2 separate regions of the Homo sapiens genome follow, and region 1 is linked to region 2. The links are contacts of gene promoters, found by promoter capture Hi-C in blood cells and fetal thymus (Javierre and others, 2016). All regions are on one chromosome and are shown on one strand. Each heading gives the region's core, a stretch centred on a gene start or on the middle of the fragment in contact. The rest is flanking DNA. Distances are from core to core; before and after follow the strand shown. Region 1 has its middle 9.9 kb from the start of MIR4641. Region 2 holds the start of CIMIP3 (ciliary microtubule inner protein 3).

Region 1 (4,351 bases), core at 1,159-3,658, 550 kb before region 2:
GAGAAAGGAGGTCAGGAACGAGCTCAACGGGGTCTTCCTAAATGTCTATTCGCAGGAGAGAGGGAAATCAAGTGTGGCACATTTGACAATGGAATATTATATTGCAAAGAGAATAAATAAAGAGCTCCCATCAGCAGGGTAAATTTGAGCAAAAAAAAAAAAAGTAAGTTGAAGAAAGATACATAGAGACTGTTCTCATTTGTATAATGTTTGAAAACATGTAATAATTCTATATATCATGTATGGGCACACATGTAGCAAACATTTAAATAATTTGTAGGAATGATAAATAACAAATTCAAGATGGTGGCTGTCACTCTGGGGAGGGGGATGCAATGGGGAGGAGTATTCAAGGGGCTTCAAGTCTGTTGGTAATGGTTAGTATTGGAGCTGGGTGGTGGGAACACAGAGGTTAAATCTGTTCTTCTCTGTACCTTTTTGTGGCTGGAATATTTCACTTAAAAATAAAAAAAGAATGGGCCAGGTGCAGTGGCTCATGCCTGTAATCCCAGCACTTTGGGAGGCTGAGGTGGGCAGATCACCTGAGGTCGGAGTTCGGGACCACCCAGACTAACATGGTGAAACCCGTCTCTACTAAAAATGCAAAAATTTGCCGGGCGCACCTGTAATCCCAGCTACTCGGGAGGTTGAGGTGGGAGAATTGCTTGAACCCGGGAGGCGGAGGCTCCAGTGAGCTGAGATCGTGCCACTGCACTCCAGCCTGGGCAAGAGAGTGAGACCCTGCCTTTAAATAAATAAATATATAAATAAATAAATAAATAAATAAATAAATAAATAAATAAAGGGGGGATTTAATAAATAAATCAATAAATAAAAGAAGAATGGCCCCAAGATTTGGGGTCCGTGCCACAGGAATAATTCTTATCCTCTCAGCCCCTGTGGGCTCAAGACAAGCAAGGGAAAAGATAAAATGTTAAAGGGGTTTGCAGGGGTGGCAGGACATCAAGTGGCTCCCATGCCCAGGACTGGACAGATGGAAATTGGCAAAGCACATCTGGGCCCACATCTGGTGGTGGGGCAGGAGATGTGGCCACAAAGGAAGGTGGGGATAGTCCGGGGATGGCAAGGAAGGAGAACCACAAGAGAGGGCAGTCCTGAGGGTTCACTGTGACAGAGGCCAAAGGGTTCCCAAAATTCGAGGCCTGGGAGCTGCTTCCATGGACTTGGCAACTGGAAGCTTCTGATGCCCTAGGACAGAATAGTTTCTAAGAAGAGTGAGGGCAGAATGGTGGGTTAGGGCAGCGGTCCCCAACCTTTTTGGCACCAGGGACTGGTTTCGTGGAAGACAATTTTTCCATGGACCAGGGTGGGGGTGAGGGGATAGTTTCGGGATGAAACTGTTCCACTTCAGATCATCAGCCATTAGATTCTCATAAGGAGCACACAGTCTAGATCCCTTGCATGCACAGGTCACAATAGACTTCACACTCCTGTGAGAATCTAGTGCCACCGCTGAGCTGACAGAGGCGGAGCTCGGGTGGTTATGCTCCCTTGTCAGCCGCTCCCCTCCTGCTGTGCGGCCCAGTTCCTAGCAGGCCACGGAGCAGGTCCACGGCCTGGGGGTTGGGGACTCCTGGGTTAGGGAGTCTGTATGTGGAGGGCAAGTAGAGGCACAGGTGTACGTCTCTCTTTCAGTGAGTTTAGTAAGCAGCAAAGGGAGAGAGAGAGGAGACCCCCAGAGGTTGAGAGGAGGTGGGACATAGCCAAGGAATGTCAAGAAAATGTTTTATTATTAATTTTCTCAGCAGTGATGGTTATATGTGCCTCAGTGTATTTTTAAGGAGCATGGGGCCGGGTATGATGGCTCATGCCTGTAATCCCAGCACTTTGGGAGGCTGAGGCGGGTGGATCACTTGAGGTCAGGAGTTCGAGACCAGTCTGGCCAACATGGCGAAACCCTGTCTCTACTAAAAATACAAAAAAAAAAAAAAAAGCCTGGCATGGTGGTGTGCGCCTCTAGTCCCAGCTACTCGGGAGGCTGAGGCATGAGAATAACTTGAACTCAGGCAGCATAGGTTGCAGACAGAGCGAGACTCTGTCTCAATTAAAAAAAAAAAAAAAGCAAGGGAAAAGGCAGAATGGGCTCAGATTATATACCTCTTTATGAGTGCATACATGAGCCAGCCCTTCTCCAGCAGACTCAGCAGTTCCCCTGGTTCTGATGTCTCCTTCCTTGTTATCTCCCCGAGAACTCAGGAACAGGGGACCCCTTCTGGGAAGGGCAGCCTAGAAACAGTCATGGGACTCACAGCTGGCAGTGGGAAGTCAAGAGCGGGTGGGAATCCCATCCCCAAGCAGAGGCCTGGGCTTGGTGACACTGAAGGAGGGTATGAGGCGGTTCAGGGGCTCCTCAATAGTTAAGACAAAGGCGGCTCTGGCAGATGGGCCGCAGTGTGGAGCACCTGTGTGAACAGGAGGCAAGGGAGGTGGCAGGGAACACAGGGCTGGCCTGCCTGTTAGACCTGCTAAGGCCTTCACCCCAGGAGCCTTCTCACCTCCCTGCACCCCTCCTCTATTGCAGTCGCCACCCCCACCCAACCACTACACCATTCACACAAGTTTCTCTCCTACTTCTTCCGTGGAATTCCTTCCTCATCCTTCTCTTGCTTCCTGCTTTGCAAAGACTGCTCAGCTGTCATTGGCTGTCCCCGGGTGCCCTCTCCCACAACCCGCTCTGGTCCTCAGCTGTCACACCTTTGCCACGACCCACCCCCAGCTTCCTGACTTTGCTTCCGCATTGGAGAATCACCCCAAACTGACGTGTGTATCTTTCCCTATCCCAGAGCGCACCCAGTCAATCCACAAACCTTTATTGAGCATCGATTCTACACCCAGCCTGGGGCTGGGTGTTACAGGTAATATGGAAAGCAATGAGTAGGCACAGGCCCTACCCTGAGGGGCTAACAGAGCAGCTGGAAAAAGAACACTGATAGGTTGTCCGGGCGCAGTGGCTCACACATGTAATCCTAGCACATTGGGAGGCCGAGGCAGGCGGATCACTTGAGGTCAGGAGTTCAAAACCAGCCTGACCAACATGGCCAAACCCTATCTCTACTAAAAAAAAAATATTTAAAAAAATTAGATGTGGTGGCAGGCACCTGTAATCCCAGCTACTGGGGAGGCTGAGGCAGGAGAATCAGCTGGCCGACAGAGCAAGACTCCGTCTAAAAAAATTTAAAAATTAAAAAAAAAAAGAAAGAAAGAAAATAACACCGATATGTAAAGAAGTAAAATAAGTCAAGATAAGGCCCCATACAAAAGAATATGCTTGACTCCCTTCTGCTGTAAGCACTCCCCATATAGAAAAGGGTCTTCTTATGACACTCCCAAGGAGTTTAATTTTACAAAAGTCTTTCCCATAAAAATTGTTATTAATATGGTGACAGAGAAGGCAGCTGCATAGAAAAGAATAGAAAGCAACAAATTATGAAGTATAACCGAGGTTAATCATTCATACATTCAAAATTTATTGAGAACTTTCTGCATACAAGGCACCAAGCTGAGCTCTGAAAGTACAAGATGAATAAGACACAGTCTGTCTCCTCAAAGAACTCCAAACAGATACATATATAAGCAGAAGAATGACATATATATATATGAAGCTTATAGATATAGACAGATATATAAGCAGAAGAATGACAATACAACATTCAGTTTGGGGATGGGAACCCAGAAAAGGATGTGTGCAACTTCCCTGGGGTAACCTGGGAAACTTCACACCAGGGAAGCACTTGAGCTGGATGTTGAGAGGTGCCTGAGCAGAGAGGACAGCACGTGAAGGGCACAGCGTCTGAAAGGAGCTGATCTGTTCAGAGTGCCCGTGTCCAGCAGTCATGGTAGGAGAATTAGGCCCAGAGACATAGATTGGAGTCAGATTATGGAAAATCACTGGCCTGACTCAGAACTTTGGACTTTTTACTCTAGACGAAATATTTTGTCTAGTATTTGGCCGGGCACAGTGGCTCACGCCTGTAATCCCAACGTTTTGAGAGACCAAGGTGGGCGGATTGCCCGAGGTCAAGAGTTCAAAACCAGCCTGGCCAACGTGGTGAAGCCCCCGTCTCTACTAAAAATGCAAAAACTAGCCGGGCGTGGTGGCGGGTGCCTGTAATCCCAGTTACTTGGGAGGCTGAGGTAGGAGAATTGCTTGAACCCAGGAGACAGAGGTTGCAGTGAGCTGAGATCACGCCACTGCACTCCAGCCTGGGCGACAGAGCGAGACTCTGTCTCAAAATAAATAAATAAATAAATAAATAAATAAATAAATAAATAAAAATAAAAACTATATTTTTGAGTGGAGGAATGATATGATCATGATTTTTTTTTTATA
Region 2 (4,480 bases), core at 1,469-3,968:
CTCAGCCCTGTGTACTTGAGGTCCAACAAAGGAAAAACAAGTAAAGATCAGAGAGGTTAAGTAATTTGTCCAAATTACACAGCAGGTAAGAAGGGGTAAAGAGAATGTCCAGATAACCAGGCCTACTTAGGGCAAGGCAATAGCAGGACACTTAAAAACCATTAACCTGCACCTTAAGAGCAGAGAAGGCAGGAAAGGAGGCTGTGTGTGTGCAAGGTGTGGGGGTGGTTAGAGGATCCTTCTGTGCTCCAAGTCAGCCCTGAGTCTCCATGTCTCTTCTCTTTCTTCCCAAACACCCACTGAGCACTGTGGGGTATTGACCGCAGCCCTTACCTTCCAGGGACTTTGATGATGCATAAAATGAGGTCATCCCTGGAGTTGGCAGGTAAGTCAGAGAAGGAGGTGCTCCAGGAGGCAGGATTAAATCAGGAGTTATCAGGGTTTAGAAATTATAACATAAATCACAGCATCTACCACGTAGTAGGCACTGCTCTAAGCTCACAAAGTCCCCATAAGCCTTCAAGATAAATTCTATTATCATCCTCATTTTGCAGATTAGGAATTGAGGCACAGAGAGGTTAGGTAATTTGTGCAAGTCACACAGCTGAGAAATGGCAGAGCTGGGATTTGAAACCCAGGCAGAGTGGGTCTGGATGTCATGATCTTAACCATTATGAAATTTACCAATGAAATAAGGCAGATATGGCTCATCTGGCCAGGACTTCCTAAAGGCGATCTCCCCAGCCACTGCCTCCTCTTGAGCTCCCCACAGTGAGGCTGACATGGCCTGGGCTGGGTACACTGCTGGCAGGGGCCTACCACCAGATGTCAATGCCTCCTGCCCCACACAAGTTCTCCCCACCTTGGACATCAAGTATCCAAGGTGGAGGGACACAATGTCCTCATGATACACATAAGACACTGAGCCTGGAGAGGGGACAGGACTTGTCTCAGGTCACCCAGTTCTCCTGGTTATCAGCCCAGCACCTCACCCCACTTTGGCTGAGACAAAGTACAATGTGTGCTAAGCCGTGGCTCCCCCAAACCCACACCCAGACACCTGGGCTCCCTCCTGATAGCTCCTTCAGGCCATTTTCCCCCAGATGCAGAGATGCTGGGCACTCTGTCCAGAATGCCATGTCCCCAGCCTCCCTTCCAAACAAGACTCCACCCTCCCCAGAGCGCTTGGAGATTGCCGGTCAGAGGCTGTGGCAGGGGAAGCCCAGTTAATGCTCCGCTGCTCCTTCTCTTTCTCTCCTGGTGCCTCCCAGCCTCCTTAGAAATTAGGGGTCATTACCATCAGGGTGTGAGATCTAGGGACAGCACACAAGTCATCAACACCCCAATTTCCAGTCTGCCTTCGGCCCCAAAGTGCATCTTGTCAGCGTTGACTCAGGGCCAGGAAGAAAACAAATAATTCCGGGCCCAGCCCAAGCTGGTGTGGCAGGAAGGCACCCAATAGCTCTATCTACCTCCCGCTGGAACTCTCTCCTTCCCCTCAACCAAGGGAGAAGCCCATGTCATTCCTACATGTGGGATTTCTGACATTACTCCTGGAAGCTGCCTACCAAGTGTGGTATTGGGGAGACAGGACCCTAGGGAGGTAGGGGAGCTGATTTTTGAAGATGGGGACAGGACAGCCCATTCAACCACCCACCCATCAATCCAATTACCCACCCACACATAGTCATAGCTGATGTTTACTCAATGCTTACTCTGTACCAGGCACTGTCCTAAGTGCTTTGCCCAACTCTATTAGGTAGGGACTTTACCCATTTTACAGATGAGAAAACAGAAGCATAGAGATGTCAATTAATTTTCCCAAAGTTACACACTAGTAAAGTAGTACAGCCAGAATTCAAGCTCAGGCATTCTAACTCCCAGACCTGCAATCCTCTATACCACAGCCATCACCATCTGTCCATTTACTGACCATCCATCCATCCACTCACACATGGTCACTCCTATTCAGCCATCTGTCTATCCACCTGTTCATCCATCCCTTTATCTCCCAACCCTCTGTTCAAAGCAATCCATGAGAAGGAATGGCATATGTAGAGGCTCAGAGGGGAGAGAGTGGGGCATGTCTAAGAAACTAGCTACTCCATAGAGAGCAAGGGAAAGATAGCAAGAGATGAGGCTAAGGAGATGAGCAGGGCTCAAATCACAAGGGTTGGCCCATCCACCATCTATCTGCCAACCCAGTCCATCCACCTGTCCATCCACCCTCCCACTCATGTCCACCCATCCATTCATCCACTCATCTCTGTAATTTGGAAGGCAGATAGATGATAGATAGATGATAAATAGATGATTGACAGGTGGTAGATGATAGATGATAGATAGATAGATAAATAGATAGATAAATAAATAGATAGATTAGATAGATAGATAGAATGAAGAGTTGCCAAGGTACATTTCCTTCCTGACAGTGATATTGGGACATGGGGGGATATTAGGACTTCTGGAGGCACCTTGATAATTAGGATGATCTCTCTCCATTCACCTCCTGCCCACAGTTTTAGGGTTCTATGGGTTTGTGGGAAGAGGGAATAGCATAGTGGGCCAGTGTCAAGGTTAAAAGACCCTTCCAGGTCCTGAAACGTCAGTCCCCAGCCCTGGCCTCATGTCTCCTTGGGAAGACAGAAGGAATTGTGTTGTAAAGAGGTGTCACAATGCCCCCTGCCCCATACAAGTTCTCCCCACCTTGGCACTCTCAGTATCCTGCCAAGAGTCCTCCCTGACCACCAGAAGTTCCACCTCACCATCAAGAAAGGCCCTGGTCCAGGATGTGCAAGGTGTGATGAAATCACAGGGCTGGGGAAGGTCAGCTCGGGGTCACAAGAAGCCTGATGGGCAGGAAAGAGCATGAAAGCCCCAGCCAGCCTCACATGTGCGGCTGGGAGGTAGGTCCTCTTACAAAAGGCTTAGTTGGGTGCTGGTGCTGGTGCTGCTGCCTGCCTTGTACTCCCCAGCTGTCGGACCTCTGCGATCTCTCTGGGGAGATGGAGAGAGGGAACAGGACACCCTCCATCTTGCTTCCTCTGCCCCTTCACTGCTGTAAAGTGTGTCCTGGACTGTTTGGTTCGTGTTACACCATCTCCAAGGCAAACTTGAGATAAATAATAATTGTAGCTAAAGTTTGAGTGCTTAAGAGGTCTAGGCACCTTACATGGACTAGCTCATTAAGTCCTCACATGAACCCTATGAGGTAGAGCTCTTGTTATTCCCACATTATACTTCGGAAAATTGAGGTACAGAGATTATAATTTGCCTAAGGATCAGGCAGCTAGTGAGTGAGAGGGCTGGAATTCTATTTATTTTTTTTTTGAGACTCGCTTTGTTGCCCAGGCTGGAGTGCAGTGGCACAATCTCAGCTAAGTGCAACCTCCGCCTCCTGTGTTCAAATGATTCCCCCACCTCAGCCTCCCAAGTGGCTGGGATTACAGGCACCTGCCACCACGCCCGGCTAATTTTTTTGTATTTTTAGTAGAGACGGGGTTTCACCATGTTGACCAGGCTGGTCCCGAACTCCTGACCTCAAGTGATTCTCCTGCCTCGGCCTCCCAAAGTGCTGGGATTACAGGCGTGAGCCACTGTGCTCAGCCATTTTTTTTTCTTTTTTTTTTTTTTTTACTTTTTTATAAAATAGAGATGAGGTCTCTCAATGTTGCCCAGGCTGGTCTTGAACTTTTGAGCTCAAGCAATCCTCCCACTTCAACCTCCCGCTGAATTACAGGTGTGAGCCACCGGGCCCTGCAGGGAACTGGAATTTGAACTGGGGTAGCTGGCTCCAGGCTCTCATGCTACCCAGTCACATGAGGAAGCTGAGGCCTACCCCCGGCTTCCCTAACCACTCCCTTCAAAGCCCCTGTGCTCCCCCAAAGGGAAACGTGCTCTCCTATAGGTTCAGACAGGTATGTGTGTGAAACCACGGTGTAACTGCCCGAGAGGCTGAGAGTAATGACTATTTGCACTGTGCCTTTACCGTTCCCAGCACTCATGGCACCCCACCACAAGCTGGTGAATTAGATAGCCTTATTATCCCCATTTTGCAGATGAGGCCCCTGAAGCTCAAAGAGGCTCAGCCACTTGCCCAAGGTCGCCTGACCTGTAAGAACAGGGTCAGGCCCAGAGCTCAGACCTTCAAACACCAAAGCCAAGGCACATTGGACAGCACCACGTGCCCCTGGGGGCCCTCACCAGCCTTCACACCCAAGTGCTATTTGCATTTCAATAAGGCACAAGGCCTTCCCCCAGAGTGAGGAGGCTACAGGTGGAATTTCTCACTGGGCAAGGCCATGTGCCTATGGCCCTGGAGGATTTGAGAGGACAGGGTGCCTTCCTAGAAAACCTGTAGTAATATCACAGATGAGATCTTCTTGCCCTACTCAGAAAGCCCCACTCTTGAGTCATGCACTTCCTCACTCTAAACCCCGGCATAAGGGACAAACGCATATTAGTATATATGTACATATTA

What was found. Contacts are between HindIII fragments. The CHiCAGO score rates a contact against its expected background, and 5 or more counts as called.
Region 1: a fragment that was not itself captured here is called in contact with the fragment with the promoter of CIMIP3 in region 2 in 1 of 17 cell types (activated CD4 T cells); the score reaches 6.2 in activated CD4 T cells.

Annotation. Positions count from the first base shown.
Region 1 is chr6:41,606,400-41,610,750 of GRCh38, forward strand. No RefSeq gene overlaps it. Among named protein-coding and RNA genes, the nearest start is that of MIR4641, 9.9 kb to the left of the region's middle. The HindIII fragment of the contact is 2,425 bases long and covers 1,197-3,621 here.
Region 2 is chr6:42,152,688-42,157,167 of GRCh38, forward strand. It overlaps CIMIP3 (ciliary microtubule inner protein 3), which reads left to right and starts at 2,719. Exons shown (of 2, transcript NM_001384994.1): 1 at 2,719-2,798. The coding sequence starts at 2,790. GUCA1ANB-GUCA1A (GUCA1ANB-GUCA1A readthrough) reads left to right here and starts at 2,719. Exons shown (of 5, transcript NM_001319062.2): 1 at 2,719-2,906. The HindIII fragment of the contact is 11,083 bases long and covers 1-4,480 here.